4 separate regions of the Homo sapiens genome follow, and regions 2, 3 and 4 are each linked to region 1. Evidence: promoter capture Hi-C in human tissues and cell types (Jung and others, 2019). All regions are on one chromosome and are shown on one strand. The core of a region is centred on a gene start or on the middle of the fragment in contact, and the rest is flanking DNA. Distances in the headings are between cores, read along the strand shown.

What was found. The method cuts DNA at HindIII sites, captures the fragments that hold promoters and counts their contacts. A contact is called where the count stands out against the background at its distance.
Region 2: a fragment that was not itself captured here is called in contact with the fragment with the promoter of RELN in region 1 in 4 of the 25 tissues and cell types used here (IMR-90 fibroblasts, heart left ventricle, mesendoderm cells and 1 more).
Region 3: a fragment that was not itself captured here is called in contact with the fragment with the promoter of RELN in region 1 in 1 of the 25 tissues and cell types used here (mesendoderm cells).
Region 4: a contact is called between a fragment that was not itself captured here and the fragment with the promoter of RELN in region 1, in 2 of the 25 tissues and cell types used here (liver and thymus).

The regions. Positions count from the first base shown.
Region 1 is chr7:103,986,593-103,993,457 of GRCh38, reverse strand. RELN (reelin) reads left to right here and starts at 3,800. Exons shown (of 65, transcript NM_005045.4): 1 at 3,800-4,327. The coding sequence starts at 4,102. The HindIII fragment of the contact is 8,012 bases long and covers 1-6,111 here.
Region 2 is chr7:103,758,462-103,765,326 of GRCh38, reverse strand. The region is part of intron 4 of RELN (reelin); the gene reads left to right. Among named protein-coding and RNA genes, the nearest start is that of RELN, 230 kb to the left of the region's middle. The HindIII fragment of the contact is 4,227 bases long and covers 1,447-5,673 here.
Region 3 is chr7:103,801,432-103,808,296 of GRCh38, reverse strand. All of the region lies in intron 3 of RELN (reelin), which reads left to right. Among named protein-coding and RNA genes, the nearest start is that of RELN, 180 kb to the left of the region's middle. The HindIII fragment of the contact is 5,714 bases long and covers 1,573-6,865 here.
Region 4 is chr7:104,119,047-104,125,911 of GRCh38, reverse strand. No RefSeq gene overlaps it. Among named protein-coding and RNA genes, the nearest start is that of ORC5, 86 kb to the left of the region's middle. RefSeq lists a silencer at 480-643. The HindIII fragment of the contact is 3,735 bases long and covers 2,192-5,926 here.

The DNA.
Region 1 (6,865 bases), core at 2,551-5,050:
ATCTTTAGGGTCTATTTTTGTGTGTTTTTTTTTTTGATTTTTGTTTTTTGCTTAGGAGCCTCAATTTTATCATACAGTACCATGTCTTATGAGTAATAGATTTTATAAGTTTATTAGCTGCTATTGGGTTTGCTCTCATGTGGCCTTTTATTACCATTTTAGAGTCTAATAAGTCAACTGATTTCAGTTTGTTCACCCTCTTCATATTTATATTTACATATTTTTTGATTTTATAAACTTTGTTTGATTTTTACATGGTAAATAAGAATAGTGACTCACTTTCCCACATATACCAAAATGTTTAATGCTTCATCTCAAAAAATATCAATGGAAGGCAGATGAGTGAATTCTTGCAACCTTAAAATATAATTTAATGTCTTCTTTGTATTTCATATGGATGAATCACCTCCCAATAATTTAAAAGCTATGTATCTGATATATGTATATATATACATGTATATATAGAGAGATATAGCAGATATATATATATATATATATACACACACATAGCAAATATATATATATATATGAATTTAATTCCCATCGTGTTATGATTATTCAAATACTGGGCAATAATTTCCACTTATCAAGAAGAAGTGGATTTATCTTCTAAGAATACTTAGTTTAATTCTTTTGGTAGACTAATTACTATTTCAAAACTCTTTTAATTAAAAATAAATCTCATTCCATTTTAAACTCCCTTTCCCACAAGCCTATTCATTTTCACCTGACATCACCTTTTATTTTTTGCAGATGTTTTTGATGTAAACCATTTTTTCTGGAAAAGCACTTCTCTATTTTTCTATTAGTTCGGAAGGTTTTTGGATTTTGCAGACCCAATATTCTTGGAGATACTTATTATGGCTCACTAAATAGAAACGAGGTGTAAGGGTTAGCACACGAATTGGGAAACAGGAAGTTTTGCTATCTAACCTGGGTTTCCACCTTATTGCGTGATTTCAAGTAAGTTGCTCACTAAGAAGATGCTACTCTCGGTTCAATGGATTTTATATATGATTTATGTATTTTTCTGATTTTCTAAAGGTTATTTAAAAGTTTTTAATGACTAGTTGAACTGGCCTAATCAAAAAAAGTGTCAGAGATGAAACAAATATGAACTTGAGCCTCTACAAGGTATTCATGTTAGTTCTAAGGACTGCAGACTGGAGTGTACCAACTTTTACTCCCCTCTTGACCAGCTCAACACCACTCAGGACATTATTTAAAAACAGTCTTTGTGTCTGTTACTGAACAACTGCAGGGCTGTAGCCAGAAATATGAGCTTGCTTCATGGCTAACAGTATAAAAGTTATTCAAATGTAATAGCAAAGCAAAGTGGTAAAAATTAAGGAAGCACAATAAAGGGGAAGATTGAAAAATAAACTTGGTCACATAAATTGAATGTTAAGAAAGCCATGTCGAGAGATACGAGAAAGAATATTTCTCTGAGAGTGCACTACACAATGGAAAGAAGGGGACTTCCTGGGAATTGAGGACCTTATATGAATTAAATTCCAATCATGTCCTGGACCAAGTGTCAGCGCTTACTAAAGACAGTTTATTTAAGCAGCGACCTTGGCATCAAGCATGGCCAGACTTGATCCCAAGCTCCTTTAACTTCTATGAATCTCAACTTTCTTCTCTTTAAAAATGAAGATAATTATACCTACTTTGCAGGCTAATATAAGGATTAAATGAGGTATTCTGACACTGGATGAAGAATAATTATTCCCCCATCCCTCTAACAACACCAACATGCATTCTTTAGAGGCGATTTGCAGTGGTTAGTGTGTCAAAATCAGACTGCCTGGGTTCAAGTCACAGCACTCACTAGCTGTGTGACCTTGGACAAGTTACTTAACCTCCCTGTGCTGTTTCATCATAGTAAAATGAAGCTATCAATGGTACTTTTCCCACAGTATTGTTATGAGGAATAAGGGAGTTAGTATGTATAGTACTTAGGACGGTGCTCAGTGCATAGTAACTAAACATTTTAAAAGTGTAAGCCAAAAACATTAAATAGTTTTGGATTCTTTCTACAAGTGATTAATTTTGTCTTTGGCTATATTCACATGACTGGACAGGAAGGCAGTAACAGCCTTGTTAGCTGTGGGCGAGTATCTCCTAATTCTGTTTGGGGCAACACCACCTGCTCCAGCTAGGGCTGTCGACTGTGGCAGGGCAGTGCAGGACAAGAGCCTCTGAGGCCAGCCAGTCTGCCCTGCATCCAGCCTTTGTCACTGACTTTGGGCAAGTTATCAACATTTCTGAGTGCCTCCTCCCTTGTGAAATAGGGATATTTTTTGCCTCTCCAGTTGGTGTTAGGATTAAAAAGCTAAAGTACGTCTAGCCCCACAGCCTGCACCCCGCAGAGCTACAGTGTAGCAATTGTTACCACATCATATATATATATATGCACATACATATATGTATACACTGTATATTATTTATATGGCAGTTAAGCCTCTGGGGATTTTGAAGTAAGGGAAACAAGAAGCCAGCTAGAAATGGGCCCTTTCTACCTGTCATTCGGTCTCAGTAAGAGGAAGAAAAACAATTTCTTCCTTTTGCAACGAAGTGATTACAGAGGTCTCCCCTTGGACCCTGATTTTCACCGCCCCTCGCCCCACAAATGCAGGCAAAGGCACTATCCCTTCCAATTTTATAATCTACTCATTTCTGTACGTGCGGGTTTATCTGGCTTGGTGGCAAGCCAAGGGTGGGTGGGGAGAGGCATTAAAACCTGGCAACCCCGCTCCCCCATCTCCGGATGCCGCAGGGCTCCTGCCAGCCGTCCTCGGTTAAAAACGTGCTTATGGATTATTTCACTTCCCTGCAGTTCATGTGCAGCCGCTCATTACCACCCGCTTCAATCACCGCTGCCAGCATCTCCCCTGAACGTTTTTCCCTCCCCCGATTTCAGGGCCATTGGTCATAACCGACATTTAAAGGAAATAAACACTGATTTAAAAAATTACAACACCCATCTCTGCCTGAAGAGCCCAGAAGCAATGAATAACAGAACAGTCCGGCGAAGAGAGCCTGTCGGATCTTAGCTCCGCCAGCCCTTCCTGCCTTACAATTCCCCACAACCGAGCAGCACAAATCACCATTTCCAGGCACCACTCGAGTCTGCCAATTCCACTTTCGCTTAATCTCATTTTAAAATCCTCTACAGATGAGGCTCTGTCGCTGCCGCGAGGGGCCGGGCGGCCGCGGCGGGAGGGACAGGGGGCCTGGGTGGGAAGGGAGCGCGAGGGCCCCTAGCGGTTCGCGGCCTCGGGCGGATTCCCAGAACGAGTGCGGGCCGCCCGGACTGGCAGACTGCGAGCCCCGAGGGGCGCGGGACGCAGCCGGCTCAGACAAAGAAACCGGCGCCAGCGGCCGTCCCTGCCGCCCCTCTCCTTCCCTCACGCATCCTCCCAGGAAAAACAGGGCACACTGACGGCCAAAGGGGCTGGCCTTCCCCTTCAGACAGCTGGACGGGAGGTGCCCTCTGCGGGGCTTTGACGTCCCTCGCAGAAGAGTCGCGGGCTCAGCGGTCCTCGACAGCGTCCCCGTCCCGCTCCCCGGCGGGCGCCCCTCCCTGTCCTCCCGGGTGCGAACCGGGCGCTGGCCGGGGACTCCGGGGACGCGTGCGCCCCTCGCCGCGCGAGGTGCCGCCGAGCCAGCCCGAGAGGGCGGGGGGCGGGCGGGGCGGCGCGCGGGGGCGGGGGAGCGGCCGGGACACGTGTGGCGGCGGCGGGGGGGACGCGGCGCCCGGGGCTTTAAGAAGGTGTGGAGCGGGGCGGGCGCTTTCCCAGGCCTGGCCGAGGGGCGTCGCGCAGAGGCGGCGGCGGCGCACGGAGGCGGCAGACGACGCGCTCTCGGCGCCCGCAGCCCCGGTCCCGCGCTCCCGCGGCCCAAAGTAACTTTGGGAGCCGCCGTCTCCCGCGGAACTTCTCGGCGGGGGCCCGCTCCCAGGCCCGCTCCCGAGCCCGTTCCGCTCCCGTCCGCCTTCTTCTCGCCTTCTCTCCGCGTGGCTCCTCCGTCCCGGCGTCTCCAAAACTGAATGAGCGAGCGGCGCGTAGGGCGCGCGGCGGCGGCGGCGGCGGCGGCGGCATGGAGCGCAGTGGCTGGGCCCGGCAGACTTTCCTCCTAGCGCTGTTGCTGGGGGCGACGCTGAGGGCGCGCGCGGCGGCTGGCTATTACCCCCGCTTTTCGCCCTTCTTTTTCCTGTGCACCCACCACGGGGAGCTGGAAGGGGATGGGGAGCAGGGCGAGGTGCTCATTTCCCTGCATATTGCGGGCAACCCCACCTACTACGTTCCGGGACAAGAATACCATGGTAGGTACCGCAGCACCTCCGCGCTCGCCGCCGCCGGGTGCGCCCGCCAGCGCACCTTTCTCATCCCTTTCCTTCTTCCAAGGGGCCTTGGAAACAAGAACCATGACAACCCTGGCCCCAGCGATGCGCTTGGTCCAGGGAGCGAGAATAAAGTTAGTGGAGAATGGAGTCACAAGTTGGGATTCATTCTCCATGTCCCCACTCCCCGAACGCATCTCCTGGTAATGAGCTGGTGCTTGTGCTAAACGCCTGAGAATTCTTGGAGGCCGGTGTCTTTCCCCCTCACTCCCCGTACTTACCGCAGGCACTTTAAATTGAACCTGCGCATTTTGTTTCTTTACTCCTAGGACTTGGATTTCAGACCTTTGTCCTGCTCCCGGTCCCCCCAGATGGGTCCCCGGGGGGGCGTTGGGGGCTGTCGCTGGGCTTTGCGGGCAGGCTGGTGACAGATTGAAGCGCCCAGGTCTGTGGCTGCCCCGCGCCGCTCGACCGCAAAGTTCCCGCTGCTCACCAGCCAGGAGTCCCTGGCATTTCATTCAGTGTCATACAGCCCTCCTGAAAGGGAGCGGCTGCTTCCAGCTCCCTATTCTTTTGAAAGTGTGATTTAATATGTCAGTAATTGATGATTTTTCTGATTCCTGCCTTACTTTTACATGGTGCTTCTTGTTAGAATTATCTTTGTGATGTTTATTAATGACTTTGTATTTTATCTGCACAGCTTTAATTTCCAGGTAGAGGCTGGAATCCCTTATAATTTAGAGGTATCTTAAAAATGGAATCATTATGCAGCCCTGCATCAAAAATAAACATTACAGAAGAAATAAAATTTAGCTCCAAGAAATATAATATTATGTAGTACATGTATTTTAAGCTAGTACATCGAGTATGTGGAAAAATAAAAAATGTCTCTTTTCTGTATTTCTTCTGGGACTTCTGAACATTTCATGCCTATAGAGCTTTTAAGCAGCGACAGGCACTATTTAATTAGAATTTCAACCCCAAAATATTTATACCCAACCAAATAGAAACCATTGTCCAGTAGGCTCCTGTTAATAGTTTCTATCTCTAATAGGCTAACAATCATTGGCATGGCGGGAGATAATCTACGGGGTGCTAGCACTTAAGATAGACAAGCATTTAAAAATTGTAAGAATCCTTAAGATTTTTCTGTTTTTAAAAAAACCTTGATATCTATTATAAAATATTTAGCCTAAATAAACGTCTCCTAGAGGTTTTAAACAGTGCTTTTACAACTTCCTTGTGGCATGGTGGCAGCCTTGTCTGTAAAGCAGAAGTTTAATTTGGTGGAATTTTAGAAATAATTTTGGAAAATTAATGTTCTGTAACTAGTCCCTTTTTAGATAAAAGTGCTTACTACGCCCTCTTCCCAAGAACAATCTAGTGCTTTTCTGAGATAATGAGAATCTTTAAGTGGAAGGAGCAGCTACTGTGATGGCAACCAGACCTAACCCAAAGCCTGATTGACAGCCTGCTGCTCCGTGCGACTCTTAGCAAAAGTTCTTGCCCGGTATGATCTCTCAGTGAGAACGGTGGGTAAGTGAGTGAGGCTGGTCTCAAAGGCGTGACTGTCAGGTTATGATGGAAGACCATGTGATGATACAAAGCTTTATTATTATTTTTTCTGTTTTCCACATCCTTTGGAAGGTCTCGATATTGAAAACTTAACTAAAAACACCAAAATATCATACACCCTTTGGTTTTGCTCCCTTGCACCCTTGAATAGCAAATGCAAGTCACCTTAAGACTCACCATAATCACATATCTAAGTCTGAAAAGGAATGGATAACATAGAGTAGAAATAAAGTGTAAATACTTCAAGTTGGACATTGCGGAGGAGAATCTCAATTTCCACCTCTTTTCCACCACCAGAAAAGGTAGAGAAATTGTATTATGTAAGTTATGAAAGGTCAAATTATTATAAGCTTTGAGAATTGTGTCAGATTTTAAATTTCTGTTATCTATTTTATTAAACATTTAGATTTTGGAACTAGCTGTAGCTATAGGCCTTAAAGTAAGAGTTTTTTTTTTTTTTTTTGTAAAATGTTCTACAGGTAGAATACATGTTTAAAAATGAAGTGATGCTTATGTATGTCTCTTTTCCTTTTAGGCTTTTGAAAATTAATTTAAAAAATTCAGACACACACACACACACACACACACACACACACACACACACACAGCTTCTGTTAGAATTGAACTGCCAATAGGAAAACTTAATCTCATGTACTTTTGTGGTTGGCCCATTTTGATATGTGACCAAAATGAAAGGTCTTTTGCCCAAGAAGTCTTCTTAAACTTACAAGAAATGTGTAAAATGTTAGCTTGAGACTTTATTTCTAACCTTCTGGATCTTTAAAGTGTAACAGTTATATCAGAAAAAATCAGTCACATTTATGATTTACATTGAAGTCACCATTTGAATGAACCATGTTTAGGTGTAGAGCTGATAGTTGTGACTTTTTTTTTTTTTTTTTTTTTTTACCTAAAAGAATGCATTGAGATAGAGGTGGTGTGCAC
Region 2 (6,865 bases), core at 2,311-4,810, 230 kb after region 1:
GAGAAGGACCAAGACACATTTGCAGAAAAATGTAAACTTAGTGGAATGGTGTTCCTCTCATCTCCTCTGAGCCCTTGCTCCAATTGTGCTTTCTCTTTCTGATAGCTTCAATGTCTTCCGCTTCAGTGGCCACCTCCTCCTCTGTGCTTAAATATGCTGAAGCCACTGCTACTTTAACAAGTATTTCATCCTGAACTTCGGGTACCCCCGGCCATGTTTCCTTCTTACAGTCCAGCTTCTTGAAAGAGCAGTGTGTGTCGCCAGGCTTTCGTCCTAACCCTGCCATCTGGCCTCTACCGCCAGCACTCCCTGGAAACCATCATCCTCAAGGTCACCAATAACCCACTAGGGTGCCAACTAATCCAGAGGACTCGGATCCTCACCCTACCTGACTTCTCTTTTCTTTCTCGGTTTCCCTAATGAGTTGTTCTTCCCACATCACACATTCTAGGGTTGGGCTTCTTTTTGCACTTTTTTTTTTTTTTTTTTTTTGAGAGGAGTCTCACTCTTGTCACCAGGCTGGAGTGCAGTGGTGCGATCTCGGCTTACTGCAAACTCCGCCTCCCAGGTTCAAGCAATTCTCCTACCTCAGCCTCCCGAGTAGTTGGGACTACAGGCATGCACCACCATGCCCAGCTAATTTTTGTATTTTTAGTAGAGATGGGGTTTCACCATGTTGGCCAGGATGGTCTCAATCTCTTGATCTCATGATCCACTCGCCTCAGCCTCCCAAAGTGCTGGGATTCCAGGCATGAGCCACCATGCCTGGCCTTCTTTTTGTGCTTTTATATTGTCCCTGTTGAACTCACTCACACCTATAATTTTCATCTCCCTAGCTCTCCACTTCCTTGGTGCTTATACAAAGAGTCAAGAAGGTAAAATGATTGTGAGCATGAAGTTTGCAGTTACCTATACTCTGAGTTAGAATTTCTGCTCTGGCACTTTCTAGCCATGAAATCTTTGAGTCTCAATTCTCTCATCTGTAAAATAGGGAAAGGGATAGTATCAACCTTTTTGGCCACTGCATACCATTCCCAAGAGCCTGGTACAATATTTTGTGCCCAGAAGGAACATCATAAGGTTGTGAGGATTAAATGTCGTGATGAAGTGCATAGCATAGTGGCTAGCACATACTCCGTAGATGTTAGCTCTCACTACTATTACTAAACACTACATTTGGGTGTCATTTAGGCACCTTGAACTCAATATATTCTAAACTGAACTTTAGTCCGTCCCAAATCTGTACCCCTCTATTGCAGTTCTGGTTAGCATCTTCATCATCACCCCAGTCACTAAACAGAGACCTAGGTAACACATTTCTTTGCTTATTCCTTGTGGTCATCCATGTCTATATCCAGTGTGTCTAAGGCCAATTTACACAATGTCTCTTAAACCAACCCCTTTCTTTCCATGCCCACTGCCATTTTTTTTTATTCAGGCCTTTCACACATTGATCAAAATGCTCCTGGCCTCAAACCCTATAACTGCCCTCTGTTTCCCCCCAGTTCAGCCTGGATTTCAGGACTTCCCTGATCTGTCCCACCTCTCTCTCTCTCCAACGTCATCTCCACATTTAGATCTTTCCACACCCATCACCCTCACCTGACACCAGACTCTTTATTTCAGCTGGAATAAGTATGTCCTTCATCAGAGATGCCATCCTGACCCTATCACTGTAGCTCATATATGCCAACTCCTTTCCCTGGTGTACTTTCCTCCATACCTCCTCTGCTGTCTAACTGATGAAGTTGCGCTCATCCTTAAAGATCCAGTTCAAGTGTCTCCTCCTATATCATCTTTATTTTTATCACTCTCCCACCTTATATTTGCTAACTGAATTTAGTTTACCATATTGTATGTAATGCATTGACTTCTAAATGTATTTTATACTACACTTTGGATCCCTTGATCCAGAAGAGACTGGATCATTTTTACATTCCCAGAACTTGGCACAGTACCTGACACTTAGCAGGCACTCAAATATTAGTTTAGGAAATGAATGAACCATATAAAGCAAGGACACTTTTCCAAAAATGCCGAATTACTCTTATTTCTTTAATTGCCAGCCAGTCTGTACCTCCCATGTCCCCAGAAGTGCTTTTATATCTGTATTTAGGCATTGTGCACTCTTTTTTCATTGATGAACTTTACTAGGAGTAGCCTAACAAAACTCAGAGTTGGTTACATGGTATTTGAGATGATGTTTGCTTTATTGCTCACTGTCCTGTATGAGAAACTACAGAAGAAACTTCTATACAGTCTGTGTACCTGCAATAACTGTCCTTCTCCTGAATAATATGTGTTCTTTTAAAGTTATGAACTCTTCTATTTCTGTAACTTTATGGCTTGAGAACCAAATTGAAGTCCTGGGGGCATGCATCTTGCATACATATCTCAAAATGGCATGTATTATTTTTCTACCCTCGTTTGTCATCTTTGATTCCCCCCTTTATTATCTTGTTCAGCTGTCTGCCTTTTTTTGTAAGCTGCCTTAAATCTATCTTAGAGCAAGACAGATTATACAATTCATCCTTAGGTATGTAAAGGAAAGTGAAAAGAAATATGAAGAAAAGTGAAGGAAGAAGATGACATATGTACAAGCAATAAGGAAGAAAAGGAACAGAGGAGATGATTAGAATTTTCTAACAACAATGGTTTTAGTAATATTGGCTTGCTGATGTTATCAGAATCCATTCAGCTAGCATTTTTGGAACTGCCATGTGTGAGACATTGTGCTCAGCATTGGGAATGCAGAGATATTCAAGATAGAGTCTCTCTACTCACAGGAATTTGCAGTTGGATCAGCTCTAATTGCTACTGTGGCCTTTAAGATTATGACTGAGATAAAGAGAAGAAACTTTTCCCCAAAAGGGACCCTTTCCTCACCCATGGGAAATTAACTATTGTAGTTAGAGTGTCAATTAAGCTTCTATGTACTTGAGGTACTAAGCAAAGTACTTCAACATGTGGGTGGGTTAAATGACTAGAAGTTTATTTCTTAGTCATAAACCAGTTTGAAGATAGATGGTCTAGGGCTGGCAGGGTCGTTCTACTGTGCACAGCAAGTAGCTTCCAAATCTAGGCGCCAAGCTGGCTGCTCCAGCACTCACCACCTCCTACAGCAGGGAGGGGAAAGGGCCAAGGAAGCATGCCCATTCCTTTAGGACATCACCCAGCCCTGAAAGTGACCCTAGTCACTTCTGCTCACCTCATATGGGCAGAACTTAATTCCTTTGTCACAGGAAGCTATAGGGGGGCGCTGAGAAATAAAGAAATAAAGAAAAGAAGAATAGACATTGGAAAATCTCTAGCAATTTCTGTTGATGTTAGCAACAAGGTTTCTTCCTTCTCCTCCACTTCTTCCTCTTCCTTCTTCCTCTTTTGAGCCTAGTGATTTTCCTTCCAACCTCTAAATGTTACTTAAAAGCCATATGTTCTCAGGTTTTGGGTCAATTTATACCTGCAATTTCTCACATCTGCTCCATCTATGAACTTCATCTCTTCAAGTTCTCAAAGGTCTAGGATTTTTAAAAGTTGCTACACAGTAACAATTTTTTAAAAATTAAAATTTGGCCAGGCATGGTGGCTCACGCCTGTAATCCCAGCACTTTGGGAGGCTGAGGCGGGTGGATTGCTTGAGCCCAGGAGTTCAAGACCAGCCTGGGCAATGTGGTAAGATCTTGTCTCTACCCCCCCCCAAAAAAAAATTTACTGGTCTTGGTGCTGTATGCCTGTAGTCCCAGCTTCTTGGGAGGCTGAGGCAGGAGGATCATTTAAGCCTAGGAGGTTGAGATTGCAGTGAGCCAAGATGCACCACTGCACTCTAGCATGGCCAAGAGAGCGAGACACTCTCTCAAAATATAAATAAATATAAAAATAAAAATGTACCAACAATTCAAATGATATTGTTTTGCATTCTGATTTTTCACTTAAAACTTGTATTTATATTGTAAGCAAATTTTTGAAAAATGTGTGGATATCTCCCCAGAAAAGATGGTGACATGAGCATGGTAAGACAATGAGCCATAATTTTTAATGTTTGAGGCCCCATTATTTATAGCTCCTATTGGAATAAATCTTATCTGAAAGAGTTCTCTATCTCCTAGTTGCAGGTTATAAAGATATATTTTCATTTTGTTCCTATTTCGTTTATATTAGAATATGAAAGATGATAAATTGTTTTGAGACATAAATCAAGTTGAGGTGGAAAATCAGAGAGGGAAGAGAAAAATAATTCCTAATATTGCTGGTTCTGTGTATAATTTAGCTGTCTTTAAATATTAAGAAATCTTTTATACTGAGCATAAGTATGTTCTTGAACACAGGGAGAACTGTTTTCACTCTAAATTTATAACATTTTTGGAAGCTTAATTATCATACTTGAAGGTCAAATGGTGCTTTATTGCAATAAAATACAAAAAGTAATAAATTATTCCTGGGGAGATGAAAGTCTAGGTTCATAGCTCATTAAATGCTAACTTCAGAGCCCATGTCTAATTTGTCATATTTAGCTTTGGAAGTTTAATACATTTGAATTTCAAATTAGGTGAAGAGATACCTGAGGCAAAACTACCTAGGGCCTTTGAATTCCAAAATGATTCAGGAGATATAGTCCCTGTAACATAATACCTGTATTTGTAAGAATTGCTTGCCACCTACATATAATTCTTGTCTGACTCAAAGGCTTTTTTTTTTAAGTAATCAATAATATTAGCTCAAAGCTCATTTACCACCTCCTGAATTCATTTTCAGGCATCTTTTCCTTTTTCTGCTCCACATATTTAAGTCTCCATTCTTTGCACTGAGTAATTTGTTCAACAAGTTGGCTGAAGTGTATTAGTGCTGCTATATTTTGGAGTCAGATGATTACTTTAAAATTTCCATCCAAAATAAGTCAGTTGAAAGAAAAAAACACATATGTCAAGAAAATAACCTTTGGGGGAATTAAACACGACCTCATTCTTTCTAATATGCCTACTTCAGGCTGCTGTGATCTATGAGATTCTGGCAGGCTCAACTTTTGAAAGAGCATATGCACAGAAATGCTTTTTAAGAAATGAAGCTTTTTTTTTTAACTTTTAGCATGTGATTTGTCTCCTGGACAAACTGAATTGATGATGGGAGGAATTTAGGCTTCAATTTAATATTGAGATACTATCTAAGGATCCATGTTTATAATATTTATTTTGAAAGGCCCAATAGTTTAACCTATTAAAATGTTATTAAGAAAAGCATTCGTGTATGACAGGCATTCAGTGAATATTAATTGAATGCAGTAATTCAAATAAAGAAATGCTAAGATGTAAAAAAAAAAAAAAAAAAAAAAAAAAAAAAAAGTATGACTGTGAGCACCAATGACCGAATGTAGTCACAGAAGCTAATGTGGAGATATTTGCTGCCTATTTTAGTTTGCAGAAATGTTCTAACTTTCATTTCTGCCTGCAAAGCTCAGCTGGTGCTAATGCAAGAGAAACTGTCGTAAGGATAAACCACTCATTATAATCTGTGAGATGCTGTAAATAATTGGAGGTAATTTTGGAGACAAAAGTATATTTAGTAAATTAAAGGTAATGTTCACAAAGTAAGTCTGTCTAATGACAAGCAATACATTAGTTGCACTTTAAAGTTTAAAAAGTGAGTAAAAAGTGGTTCTTCTCATACCGCGATGAAGGCCATATTAATTCACACTGAGTGAAAATAGTGACTTTTTAAAAATAATTTTTCACCTTTCCCAAAGATATTTCTTGGGAAAAAAGCTGCAACTCTTCTGACTAGAACTATCACCAACACAGAGACATGTTAACATATACGAGCTAAGAGCTTTCCATCATTTATTCAAAAAAGCATCAGTATGCACTTTTTCTGCTTTCATTTTAAGCAAATAAATAATAACCTTGTTTAAAGAGACCAAGAAGCATGTTATTCCTTTGAAACTTTTGATACTGAATTTACTTGCTTTCGTGTTAGGCTCAATCAAGCCTTGTGATATGAATTGCTTATCTTATGAACTGGGTCTTTTCATGACTGTTCCACGTAATCATTCACCCTCACTATTTTTTGAATAATTATCTTTATCAAATCTGCATTAGTACAGAGATCTTGTGTTCATTCAAGGCAGTTCCAGTCTCTTTCTTTTGCTAGCTTATGGTGATTAGTAAATCATTTCAAGAATAGTACAGTTGAATTTTTTAAAAAAGAAGTTCTATAAGCAATCTATTTTTTTCAAACTTTAAAGTACCTTCTAAAAACAGTGATTGTTTACTTTTATTCTTAACATGTTTAAGCTTATTAATTTTAGAAATCTATTTCTGTCCTCTTTGCGTAGTCTGTGAAATCTTAGTAAAATACATATGTAATCTTCAGGTCACTTAATAATACTCAAGCATCTAGGAAAATGCCCGGCTAAGGAAAGACTTAGAATGTTGCTGAAGCATTTCATTGCTGATCTAAATCTTTGTATTTTGCCAAAACATCATCTGGATAGGCCCCACTGGAGAGAGAATTTGGAGGACAAATAACTTTTAAGTGGCACTATCACAAACATGAAAAAGAATCTGGAAAAGAAATCATAAGTACACATTTATGAGTGGTTTTGACACTCATAACATTTATTTACTTATCTAGTATGAAAAGATTATATTATGCTGAAAACTTTAAAATTTCATTTTTTTCTCATTTAACTGCTCTGCTCTCAAGAGGGATTTGACTTATGAAATTAAGTAGATTCTCATTTATCAATACTTTCCTAGTAAAAATTGCTACCAATTTGTATTGATAGTTTTAAAGAAATTTGGCTTTTTCAACTAAAAACAAGTCAAAGTAGGCTAGGCTTTCATTCTGAATGCCTAGCTGGAAAAAAGCTTTT
Region 3 (6,865 bases), core at 3,180-5,679, 190 kb after region 1:
CACCTAATGCTATCCCTCCCCCCTCCCCACACCCCACAACAGTCCCCAGTGTGTGATGTTCCCCTTCCTGTGTCCATGTGTCCATAGAAAGGTTTTTGATGGTTATCTTTATTGTTGGTTGCTCTGACTTGGCTGATTACCTGGAGACTCTCATATTTTAGTATCTTCAGATTTTTCTCTTAGGCCAGAATCTTTTAAACAGACTTTCCAACCTCTTGAAGGAGGATTTATACCTAATTTCCAGCCTTATGAAATCCAAGAGGAGGAAGAAAGCTGAGGATCTCATTTACATCTAAACTTTTGCTTATCTCTGTTCTCAGAAGAGTATCCCATCCTCAGTTGTGCCTAGTGTCTCTGGAGAATAAACTTACAGTCTTCTGCTGGTGGGATGAGGGCCTGTTATGGGGCTGCATAGAATTGCAGAGAGGAGCCCTTTGGTTCAACTGGATAAAGAAAATGTGGTACATATGCACATGAAATACTACGTAGCCATAAAAAAGAATGAAATCATGCCCTTTGCAGCAACATGGGTGCAGCTGGAGGCCCTTATCCTAAGCAAACTAATGCAGAACAGAAAACTAAACACCACATGTTGTCACTTACAAGTGGGAGCTAAATACTGAATACACATGGGCACAAAGATGGGAGCAATAGACACTGGGGACTGCTTGAGAGGGGAGGGTGGAAGGGAAGCCTAGATTGGCAGGCTACCTATCGGGACTATGCTCACTACCTTGGTGATGGGATCATTGGTACACCAAGCCTCAGTGACATGCAATTTACCCATGTGACAAACCTGCACATGTATACCCTGAACCTAAACTAAAAGTTGAAAAATAAAATAACAACAAAAAGCTTCACGAATGGACTTTCAGCAAATAGTGTCTGTTTTCAGTCTCATCTCCATCCTAATTTCAAAAAGTATCCAGTGCCACTAATTTCTGAGCCTCTTTCCACTTACCCTACTGCTGGCTTAGGATTCAGTGTTTTAGTGTGTTAGGTTAGTTGCAACTTATCTGTTGGCTTCCCAGTTTCTCACATTTTTATATTGTTGTCATCTCTCTTGTCTTCTTGGCTCTTTGGGTGTATGCTTTTAAAAAATTCTTTACTGTATTCTAGCAGGTTTCAGGAAGAAGTGGAAACTAATATTGTGTTCAATCCACATTTTTAAAGCCTGGCAAACTCTCAGTTGCCATTTAAAGCTCAGCTCCGGTACCTCCTCTCAGTCTCCCCATTCAGATTAGGATCTTCCTGTGCAGCCATTGCACTTACCACATTCCACTGTAATTGTCATTTCATGTGTCTCTCTACCTTAGTCTGTAAAGCCATTGACTTGAAGGGGTATGTTATTCCTCTTCCTAGTTCCAGTGCTTGCATGGAGCCTGTAACACTAGGTGTCAGGAAGAACTTGTTGAATGATTAAGTGTGGATATTAGGATAGGAAGGAAGAGGCTCTTTTCCTGGCTTCATCTATCTTGAAAGGATTATACTGACTCTAATGGATTTAGTTGTAGTAGTACTTGATTTTAAGGCCAAGAAGAAGATAAATTGATTTTTTAAAAAGATAATAATTCACTTTTCGGATTCTCTTGATGGTTACTCAAGTCACTGTTTTTCTTCTTTCTTAGAATGTGGGAGAGATAAATCATATTTTTCCATAAGAAGTGCTTATGGCCGGGCATGGTGGCTCACACCTGTAATCCCAGCACTTTGGGAAGCTGAGGTGGGTGGATCACTTGAGGCCAGGAGTTCAAGACCAGCCTGGCCAATGTGGAAAAACCCTTTCTCTACTAAAAATACAAAAATTAGCCAGGTGTGGTGGCGGGTGCCTGTAATCCCAGCTACTTGGGAGGCTGAGGCAGGAGAATTGCTTGAACCCAGGAGGTGGAGGTTGCAGTGAGCTGAGATCACGCCATTGCATTCCATTCTGGGTGACAGAGCGAGACTCTGTCTAAAAAAAAAGAAAAAAGAAAGAAAGTGCTTAGAGGGAGTTCCATTCCCCCTCAATAGCAAGGATAATGATTATTTTCACAACTGGACTAAGCTGAAGTCCCTCTCCCCAATAATTATAAATAGATATAACAGTCATCTGGTGTTTAGCTCAGACGTTAGTGAAATGTTTGGCTCTTTTTCTCTTCTTGATTACATATGGTAGTATTATGCCCTTGTCACCTGAAAAATTAAGCATGACTATTTTAGATTTCTCTAAAAATACATACTATATTTTCCTTACCAATGCGTAGAGCATTTTTTCCAAGATAGGTAAAAACTCCTTGCAATTGTAAAAGCTTGACTTCTCCTTACTTATCAACTCAAAATTCATGTTTTCTTCCACATATTTTCTCTTTTGTGTGAAAAAAAAATTCTATGGACCATAGTGAGTCAATGCTCCTTCCCCATGGAATAGCTGTTAAGAAAGGCTCTTGGGATGGCAATCACTGTCCTCTCTAGCCCCTCCTTGTTATTCAGCATTCTTCTAGACTCCTCTGTGTCTGTATTCTGCATGTCCCTTAAGGAAAAGCCAACAATTTGGCTTATACTTCATTTTAAAAATGACTAAGGGACCAATTGTAGCACATTTTGATAAGTAAAAAGAGCCTGTGACCCAGCAAAATGTGAACAATCTTGCACATCTCCAAGATTAAGTGAGCACCAGGCCAAGTCTAAGAGAAGAATCTTCAGATTACAATCCAGTTAGAAGGAAATTGGCTGGAGGATTCAGGAGGATTTGTGAGGGGGTGGACCCACTCATGTCTCTGACACACACTTTGGCATGTTGTTTTAAGTATTTAGACCAGAGGACTAGAACATTGAAAACAGAGTTCAAATTTTAATGACAGTTTTACAAATCTGAAAGTTGGCAACACATATAGTTGTCAGTTATATGATTTTATGCATGGATGTGCCACACATATGTACTCATTTCACATGCACGTTCGTATATCTAAAGTTGGTTAGAAAGACTTTTGGGAAATTAGATTTTAATTCTCTACATGTATTTTGTCTTTTACTGTTTACAAAGCACTTTCACATCTGTTGCCTTATTTGGTACTCACAGTAGCATCCTGTGAGATAGGCAAGCAGCTATCATTCCCATTTCACAGATGAAGAATCTGGTGCTTAGACAGGTTATACCATTTACCCAAGTTCACTCAGCCAGATTGTTAGTGGCAAAATCAAGAGCAGAATCCAGTTTTCTTGACATTGAGTTGTTTTTTTTTTCCACTCAACCTGAGGGAATATATATTATATACCTGATTATATATAATGCATATGTAATAGATATTAGATACCCGATTAGATATTAAATTATTTCATGAAACGCAAGTCCCTGCTAGACCTCCTGATGAGCAACAATTGCAAGTTACTCATCCATGATAATTTGTTTACTTCCCCACATTAAAACTATCATTAAAACTATGCTGGCTGGATGTGATATCTAGCAAAAGAAAAATGGAGAGAAAATACATTGCAAAAAGCCACTCCTCACTGAATAATGTGGGCACGCTGTTTTCTAACCTATTTTTGCAACTAATATTTAAGATTAAGGAGTTTGATTTGTTACAAGAAGTAACCTATTACTATTTTCTACATTATTTCTTAGTGATAACATGCATTAGTTTATTAGATCTGTCTGAAAGATCTTGTTTCTTATTCCTTATAAATAATTTGTGGATACCCAGCCAGTGCAGAATCAGATTTGGTGTTACTACGCATTATTTATGACCATATTTCTTTAAACATATTCTAACCTGGAAGCTGTGTGTAGATTTTCCATTTACATAGCTAATATATGCATTGTCGCTGCCACACAGTAAGAAATGCTTACCTGACAGGCTGTGAACCTGCATAGTATAACAGGCATTATTCCGAATTTGTCAGACATTCAGAGCATAAATGATGGGTTTCTCTTCATACCACTATTTAGTGCCGTTTTATTTGAAATAGAAAAAATTTCCAGCAACTTCAGACAACATTTGGGATTTATCCTCATTAATATTTTGGCTTTGTTATCAATCATGCAGGTATGTTAGACATAATTTAGAATAATTCTTATATGTACTTGAAATAACCTTACTTTTAACCCCAAACTGAATCAACTTTTTAAAAATTTTCCATAAACAAATGCAAGATAGAAAGATTAAAGATATGAATAATTTAAAAATATTGCAATGGTAGGAATTTTTTCCCTCTGCAAGATGAGGAAATGCCTAGATGTGATAAAGACTCTGTCTCTCTGAGCAGTACTGAAGGTGAAGCTAATTACATGATGGAGATTTTCTTTCCAATGACACGTCATTTGAAGATCTTAAACACAGAACTCAAAGATTCTCAGTGGTTTTTATGGCCTTGAGATATTTTTAGGTGCATTTTCCACCCTTTATAAAAATTTCCACCTTTAAAAATATCTAGTGAACCCCAGTTTCTAAAGCATTTCCTGTAACTGCATCTGTTGCTAGGAGAGGAGCAGAAGAAAAATGACAGACTCCTAAGAGCTGTAACCTTGCCAGTTGCTGTTATCCTGGAAATGTGGTAGTCAAGGTTGTCATCAAGAGTCTTATAATGATCTTTACCCATTATAATTTGCAGGAGTGCCTGAAAAACTGTATAAGCCTCTAAGTTCCTTCTACCCTTAGAAGCTGAGTATATAATTTCAATCTCTAAGCAACTTGATAACAAGGTTTACTGGGTATTTATCCCCCATAGAGTATAACATAAAGTCTTAGAAAGTGCCAAAGAGTATTTATTTAATCAACCATTGGACAACCAGGTAGTCATGGAGTTAGTGTCATAATTTGCAATTATCATCACTCCAGCCAGGTGTCTTTTATTGAATACTGTGCTAATTGTCCAATCTCTGACTTCTTAAAGTTTATTATATAAGGAAAGAACACTGAGTATATTAAAGATATCTAGCATATAAAGAAGCATTAAGCAAAGTCAATGAATTAAGAGTTAAGATGTATTTAAAATTACTAAATATATAAAGGTGTTTTAATCATCATCACTGTGAGTACATTAGTGTGAACAAAAGATTAATGTCTTTAGTGAAATGGCAAGTGAAGACGCAGCAATCGTAAATGCATTTATAAAGTAAGTTTGAGTAGGAGTAAAGGTGGAGTATTTTAGTCTTGCAATCATTAAGCTGGACAGGGTTTTAGGGGAAGAAAGGAGCTTATTCTTGGCCCACAAAACAGACTCAACACTGTGGCTTTCATGTATCTATGTGGGTGATTCTATTTTGACCCAAATGTAAATTCACTTTGAAATAGGGCCTGGGAATGTTCATCCTACATATTGATTGGAGAAATGAAAATAATATTACGGTGTTATATTACTTTGTAAAACAAATGCTGTTGATTTACTTCATGTGAAAAAGTTGCTGGCATTCTTAAAGCAGTTTTATATTGTGATGGTGGTGATTAGGAGGTTTTGTTTTTGTTTCAGCCAGTAATACAAGCATTGCAGGAATTCTTATATCTACATTTTATGTGAAAGGAACACTTTTTAAATCCCTTCTTGGATATTTCAGATGTAGTTATATATCTATCCCTAAAGCCAATCTGTGCCTTTAAATGAAGCCCGTACTCTGATTTCATAAGGAGACTTGCAATTTTATTGGTACTTAGAAGTCTAGTTTATTTTCTTAGGGATTTAATGCACAGTGCTAATATTATCTTTTGCTACTAAACAAGATGCTTCTCAAAATTTCACATTTGGGTATCTTGAATTTGTGTGACTTCTACAGCACTTTTATGTTTAAATTAATTTAAATTCTGGTGAATCTTGGTCTACGAGTAAATCTAATATATAAAAACCCAAGTCCACCAAAAAAGGCCAATTAGGGCATTGTGATTTGTTTTACAGTAATAATCCTTTTAACTGTGTACTTAATATTTAAATGTCCTAATACACCTTTTCAGTAACATACATATTACATCATATGAAGCAAATATCAGTTGACTTTGATTTATTTAGTCATGTCTTAATTCTACTTTGGCATTGAAAATGATAAACTTTAGCACTTGATCATTTTTCTTTTTCCCTCTAAAAAGTTTTGCAAGACCCTGTGACTAAATTTTGAGGGCTATAAGATTGTTTAATTTATTTTCTCCTGAATTTGTGAAACTTACTGATCTTTCATCTTGCTCTTACTTTCGTTCTCTTATTTTCATGTTCAAACAACCTTCTGACCAAGAGGAAACCTGGTTTGTATTTATTTTGTTTCTCATTAATTCAGTAATTCAAGAAATATATACTGACACTTAACTATGTGCCACGAATTATGCCAAGCCCCAGAAATATGTAAATACGTACCAGTGCATTAGTAAACAAGTAGAAGTTGTCCCTGCCCTCACAGAACTTGTATTACTACTACTGCTACTGCTAGTACTACTAATTACTACTATATTAAATCAAAATTATTATTGTGGCTAACACATACTGAGAACTTACTATGTGCCAGGATAAGTGTTTTGTGTGGATAAATTCTTTAAACCTTCACCATTACCCTATGAGGTGGGTACTATCATTAGTGGGGCACAGAGAGGTTGTCACTTTTTTTTTTTTATACTTTAAGTTCTAGGGTACATGTGCACAACGTGCAGGCTCGTTACATAGGTATATATGTGCCATGCTGGCCCGCTGCATCCATCAACCCATCATTTACATTAGGTATTTCTCCCAGTGCTATCCCTCTCCCTGCCCCCCACCCCACAACAGGCCCCAGTGTGTGATGTTCCCCACCCTGTGTTCATGTGTTCTCATTGTTGAGTTTCCACCTATGAGTGAGAACATGCAGTGTTTAGTTTTCTGTCCTTGTGATAGTTTGCTGAGAATGATGGTTTCCATTTTCATCCATGTC
Region 4 (6,865 bases), core at 2,810-5,309, 130 kb before region 1:
CACGATAGGCACTTTTAGTGTAACTATCTGGTTCAAAGAAAGCAAGTAATTATCTACTATTTAGAGGTAATGAGTTAGGGAGAAAAGGAATGGAATTCCTTTCGCCTCCCTACATAAATAAGACAGACTTTCTTGCCTGAAGATTGACATCCACAGCAAGTGATAGAGCATCCCCACTGTAAATCTCTTGTCCCACAGAAAATGAAGTTTGTGTTTCACAAGATGTTTGGAGATGCCAGGGTCAGAGAAAAGCCATGCGTAGTGTGGATTCTGGCTTAGTTTCCAGCATGTAGAAATCCATGTCATCAAGCTGTAGAAAACAATTTGGGTAGCTGATTGAAGGAAGAGCAACACCACCTAGGATAGCTTTCAGCCCCTCATATTTGTTTTGCAGATGCATGTCTGCTGTGCAGCCTGTCACGGATAAGCGGAACCAGTCTGTATTTTGAGGGAAGAACTCTGGGATATCAGGAGGGGAGAAATTATCAAATAGGAAACTGGAGAGAAGGATGGAAAGGAGGTGAAGTTTCCTATAAGTGACTGTCCATGCATCCTCACAGCTGGTCACCTGTCTCCTGCCCGGTGCATTTCCTCTCCTGTACTGCCCCACCTTGTTACCAGCCCCAGATGTGGCTTCCCGGCATAACACTAACCAGATTTTCCCTGCCCCTGACTGGGTCATCAGAACTTTCCTGTTTTGTAATTTACTTTCTAATGGCTTGCTAAATGACTCAGCAGCTAATTTGATTAATTTATTTAGATGAATACTAACAGAGCTTAATATGGATGTTGGCATTTTAACAAGGGTCATCTGCAAGTGGAATTCTCTAATTGGAAGATATGAATCTCCAATTACAGGAGGGAATCCAATAATGAGAATTAGGCTGGCCGGCGGGCCAGAAATTTCTGTTAAGAGGAGGCACTTAAATTATACTCAGCATCTACTCTACCTAGGTGTAAAAGTAATTTAGGTGGTAGCAGAAGAAAGTTACTAAGCTGTAGGTTTTTAGACTATACATAGGTGGTCCTCCATTTTACAAATGTCTTCTTTCAATTACCGTGAGCCAGGTATACATAGGTGGAGACCTTACTCCCTCTTCCCTCTTACTTTCAAGTCATTTTCAAGCCCATTTCAAGCTTTCGTTGATGCAGCAATTCCTTTCAACAACTCTGGAAGAGATTGTGATCTACCAAGCCTCATCTCATTAGTCATAAAGGGGTCAAAGTCTTGATACCAAGATAGCAGTTGAGACTCCAGGCTCTGGAATCCTTGGATCAAATACCAGCTGTATTGCTACTGGCTGTCTGGCCTTAGGCAAGTTATTTAATGTGTCTCTGTGACTTTCTCACCTGTATAGTGGAAAGTAGAATTTACTTCGTAGCATTTTTACAGGATTAAATAAATGAATATATCTAAGGCAGTAGTTCTCAACTAGGGACATTTTGCCCGCCGGCAAACGTAGTCATTTCTGGAGACAGTTTTGGTTGTCACAACTGGGTGTGGGGAGGGTAAAGGCCAGGGATGCTGCTAAATACAGTAGTCCCCACTTACCCATGATACTGCTTTCCTTGAGTTCAGTTACTGTCCGTCATCCTCAGACTGTGGTCTGAAAATATTAAATGGAAAACACCAGAAATACAGTAGTCCCCACTTACCCATGATACTGCTTTCCTTGAGTTCAGTTACTGTCCGTCATCCTCAGACTGTGGTCTGAAAATATTAAATGGAAAACACCAGAAATACAGTAGTCCCCACTTACCCATGATACTGCTTTCCTTGAGTTCAGTTACTGTCTGTCATCCTCAGACTGTGGTCTGAAAATATTAAATGGAAAACACCAGAAATAAACAGCTCATAAGTTTTAAACTGCATGCTTTTCTGAGTAGTGTGACGAACTCTCATGCTGTCCCGCCTAGGATGTGAATCATCCCTTTGCCCAGCCTGTCCATGCTGTCCATACTACCCACCGGTGAGTTGCTTAGTAGTTGTCTAGGTTATCAGATTGACTCTTGCAGTATCTCAGGGCTTGCATTCAAGTAACTCTTATTTTACTTAATGGCCCCAAAGTGCAAGAGTAGTCATGCTGGCAATTTGGATATGTCAAAGAGAAGCTGTAAAGTGCTTCCTTTAAGTGAAAAGGTGTAAGTTCTCAATAAGGAAAGAAAAACATCATATGCTGAAGTTGCTAAGAATGTGGTAAGAATGAATCTTCTATCTGTGAAATTGTAAAGAAGAAAAAAAATTCATGCTAGTTTTGCTGTTGTACCTCAAACTGCAAGAGTTGTGGCCACAGTGCATGATAAGTGCTTAGTTAAGATGGAAAAGGCAGAAGATGTGAACCGAAATGTGTTCAAATTATGGTAATCAGGTTCAGGACTGTTAGAGGGTTTAGCCATCCACTGGAGGTCTTGGAACTTATTGCCCCTGTGGATAAAGGGGGACTACTGTATACTAAAATTAATATCCTATAACAGAATAATCTGACCCTCAAATGTCACTTGTGCAGAGGTTGAGAAACCCTGATCTAAGTAAGGTACCTGGCACAGAGTAATTGTTCAATAAAGCTATTATTATCCTGAAATGTGTCTTTGTGGGCTAGAAAGGAGGTAAATGAGGGAATGTGACATTCTTACTAGAAAGAGGCACATCCCTTTTTTACTGTAATCTTACCTCATACCTAGAAAAATTATTTCTTGTTTAAATTTTGGAGTTACTCAAATGGAAACAATACCTTGGATTTTAATTTTTAAAATTGAAGTGTTATCTACTGGGTTCCAATCCGTACACAGATTTCATTACTTATTTTTCAATATCCTGTGGGATAGGTCAAAATTATAGCTGAGAATTATCAAATCAGAGAGCAGGTGACTGAGGACTTACATTTTTTTCCCTCAAGGTGTACTGGCTGAACAATTAGTGGTATACCTCCAACAGATTTAGTTAACCAACAACTGATTAATGTAATTAAGATGGTCTGGAGCATGAAAAACTCAGACTGTAAGAAGCCCACTCAGTCTCTCCAAAGTATGCATCACTCTGCTTGTACATTCCAAAGAAAAGTCAGGGACCAAGTCCAGGAATAATGCATCTCCTATCACATTAAGTACTCAATAAGTATCAAAAATAGCAGATGAAATTCAGAAACTGTCTCATGTGTAATAGTGTCCTCCATTGCTACCTGAATTCTCACACTATTGTGTACTATAATTGTTTGCATTTTGTGCCTTTAGCCATAGGCAGAAGCTTGGATTGGAGTTAATTTGACCAGAGGTTGATATTATTCAGCTTCATCTCCTACATTTAGAAAGCTTCATCTACTACAAAGTGTGGCTGCCTAACATGTGAATAGTTTAGATAATTTCGCATGTAATTTCACTCTGCTATCACACTTTGCTTTCAAAAATGCTTAGTAGAGCTCAACAAAATCTTTCCTATAAAGATAACAACATTTCACTCAAGTTTGTCATTAAATGCCCTGAATACACAGTTAATGTTCATTTTCCAGCAGTGGCACACATTCATGAGACACAGTATGAGAAGTAGAAATTTGGTAGAGCAGAGAAAATTATAATCAATTCATTCATAACTGCATGTTGATGCACAGTAATGATGGGAATTTTAGAAAGCATTCAACTGTTCGAGTAAATAGTCGTAGCTTTGGCATGTTGGAAAGAGCCTGGGTTTTAGAGGATTGGAGATTTGCTTGGGTTTTAGATAAACCGTAATCCATTTCATTTTTCTTTCAAGGAGTTGAGGGTTCGATTTAATGGCGGTTTCCCTAAAAGTGTTTAATTCAACAGATTCTAAATACTAGTTATGTGCCAGGCATTGTGTTAGGTGAATGGGATACATGAGTTATACAGAATGAGAGAGTTTCTGGCCTGGATAATAGGTACTACCAGCATTGGTAGAGTCATTCTCTGAAATAGAAAATCTTGGGGGAGGACTAGGCCTGTAGGGGTGGAGAAGATTATGAGTTCAGTTGCCATTAAAGTGCTTGTGAGAAATCCAAGTGGAAATGTGAAACAGGTAGTTGGATCTAGACTGGAGATCAGAGTTGCTGCAAGTATAAATGTAGGCATCATGAGGATAGAGATGGTTATTTGGTGATTTGGAGGTCTTAATTCTTACAGTAGTATCCATCACATGGTGAGGGAGAAACCATGTTGAAGTGAGTTTAGGAAAATATATAGAAAGTGATCATCACCATTGTTTGTCAAGAACTACAAGTTGTATTTTTTTTCAAATAACAGTTCTCCACTGTTCGTATAACCCTGATTCTCCTCAGCAAGTGAAGTGGCAGTAACGAGACATGGCTAGATCTTATTTAGTATCTAGCTCAGGAAGGAAAAATCAAACCCTCTTAGAGTCTTAATTCTATGGAGAATGTTAGATCACATGGGCTTTCTATGTGCTCTCTCTACTTCCTCATGGCATGGTGACTAGGTTCTAACGCAAGCATCCCAAGAGAAACAGCAGATGCTGCATGGCCTTTTCTAACCTAGCCTCAGAAGTCACAGAGCATCACTTTTGTACCATTCTGTTTGTTGAGGCAGGGATAAAGGCCTGCCTATACTTAACAGGAAGGGAATTAGACCCACTTGATATTAAAGAACTTGGAGACAGGCTTTAAATCACCACACAGAACATAGTAGGCTGAAAATAATACTATGGGATGCAGACGGAATATATTTTATGTCATCTCAAAATTTGAATTGGTATGGCAGAGACTGCTTATTGTCCATGCCTATGCTTCCCCCAAGTATCTTGCCTATCTGCTTCCAAAACACAGGAACTCTGACTGCAAGAAGGCCAATGTGATCAGAACACAGGAAACAAGGGTAATTGTGGTAGTAGATGGGATCAGAAGTGATTGGGGGCCAGGTGGTGTGTGGTCTTACAGGTCATTGAAAGACTTTGGTTCTTATTCTGTGTGAGTTAAGAAGCACTGGATACAAAATCAATGTGCAAAAATCACAAGCATTCTTATACACCAATAACAGACAAACAGAGAGCCAAGTCATGAGTGAACTCCCATTCACAATTGCTTCAGAGAGAATAAAATACCTAGGAATCCAACTTACAAGGGATGTGAAGGACCTCTTCAAGGAGAACTACAAACCACTGCTCAATGAAATAAAAGAGGATACAAACAAATGGAAGAACATTCCATGCTCTTGGGTAGGAAGAATCAATATTGTGAAAATGGCCATACTGCCCAAGGTAATTTATAGATTCAATGCCATCCCCATCAAGCTACCAATGACTTTCTTCACAGAATTGGAAAAAACTACTTTAAAGTTCATATGGAACCAAAAAAGAGCCCGCATTGCCAAGTCAATCCTAAGCCAAAAGAACAAAGGCATCACACTACCTGACTTCAAACTATACTACAAGGCTACAATAACCAAAACAGCATGGTACTGGTACCAAAACAGAGATATAGATCAATGGAACAGAACAGAGCCTTCAGAAATAATGCCGCATATCTATAACCATCTGATCTTTGACAAACCTGACAAAAACAAGCAATGGGGAAAGGATTCCCTATTTAATAAATGGTGCTGGGAAAACTGGCTAGCCATATGTAGAAAGCTGAAACTGGATCCCTTCCTTACACCTTATACAAAAATTAATTCAAGATGAATTAAAGACTTACATGTTAGACCTAAAACCATAAAAACCCTAGAAGAAAACCTAGGCAATACCATTCAGGACATAGGTATGGGCAAGGACTTCATGTCTAAAACACCAAAAGCAATGGCAACAAAAGCCAAAATTGACAAATGGGATCTAATTAAACTAAAGAGCTTCTGCACAGCAAAAGAAACTACCATCAGAGGGAACAGGCAACCTACAAAATGGGAGAAAATTTTTGCAACCTACTCATCTGACAAAGGGCTAATATCCAGAATCTACAATGAACTCAAACAAATTTACAAGAAAAAAACAACCCCATCAAAAAGTGGGCGAAGGATATGAACACACACTTCTCAAAAGAAGACATTTATGCAGCCAAAAAACACATGAAAAAATGCTCATCATCACTGGCCATCAGAGAAATGCAAATCAAAACCACAATGAGATACCATTTCACACCAGTTAGAATGGTGATCATTAAAAAGTCAGGAAACAACAGGTGCTGGAGAGGATGTGGAGAAATAGGAACACTTTTACACTGTTGGTGGGACTGTAAACTAGTTCAACCATTGTGGAAGTCGGTGTGGCGATTCCTCAGGGATCTAGAACTAGAAATACCATTTGACCTAGGTATCCCATTACTGGGTATATACCCAAAGGATTATAAATCATGCTGCTATAAAGACACATGCACACGTATGTTTATAGTGGCACTATTCACAATAGCAAAGACTTGGAACCAACCCAAATGTCCATCAGTGATAGACTGGATTAAGAAAATGTGGCACATATACACCATGGAATACTATGCAGCCATAAAAAATGATGAGTTCATGTCCTTTGTAGGGACACGGATGAAACTGGAAACCATCATTCTCAGCAAACTATCACAAGGACAAAAAACCAAACACCACATGTTCTCACTCATAGGTGGGAATTGAACAATGAGAACACATGGATACAGGAAGGGGAACATCACACTCTGGGGACTGTTGTGGGGTCGGGGGAGTGGGGAGGGATAGCATTTGGAGATATACCTAATGCTAAATGATGAGTTAATGGGTGCAGCACACCAACATGGCACATGTATACACATGTAACTAACCTGCACACTGTGCACATGTACCCTAAAACTTAAAGTATAACAATAAAATAAAAAAAAAGCACTGGAGATATTTAAGCAGAGGGGGTCACATCATCTGGCTTAGATTTTGAAAAGGATTA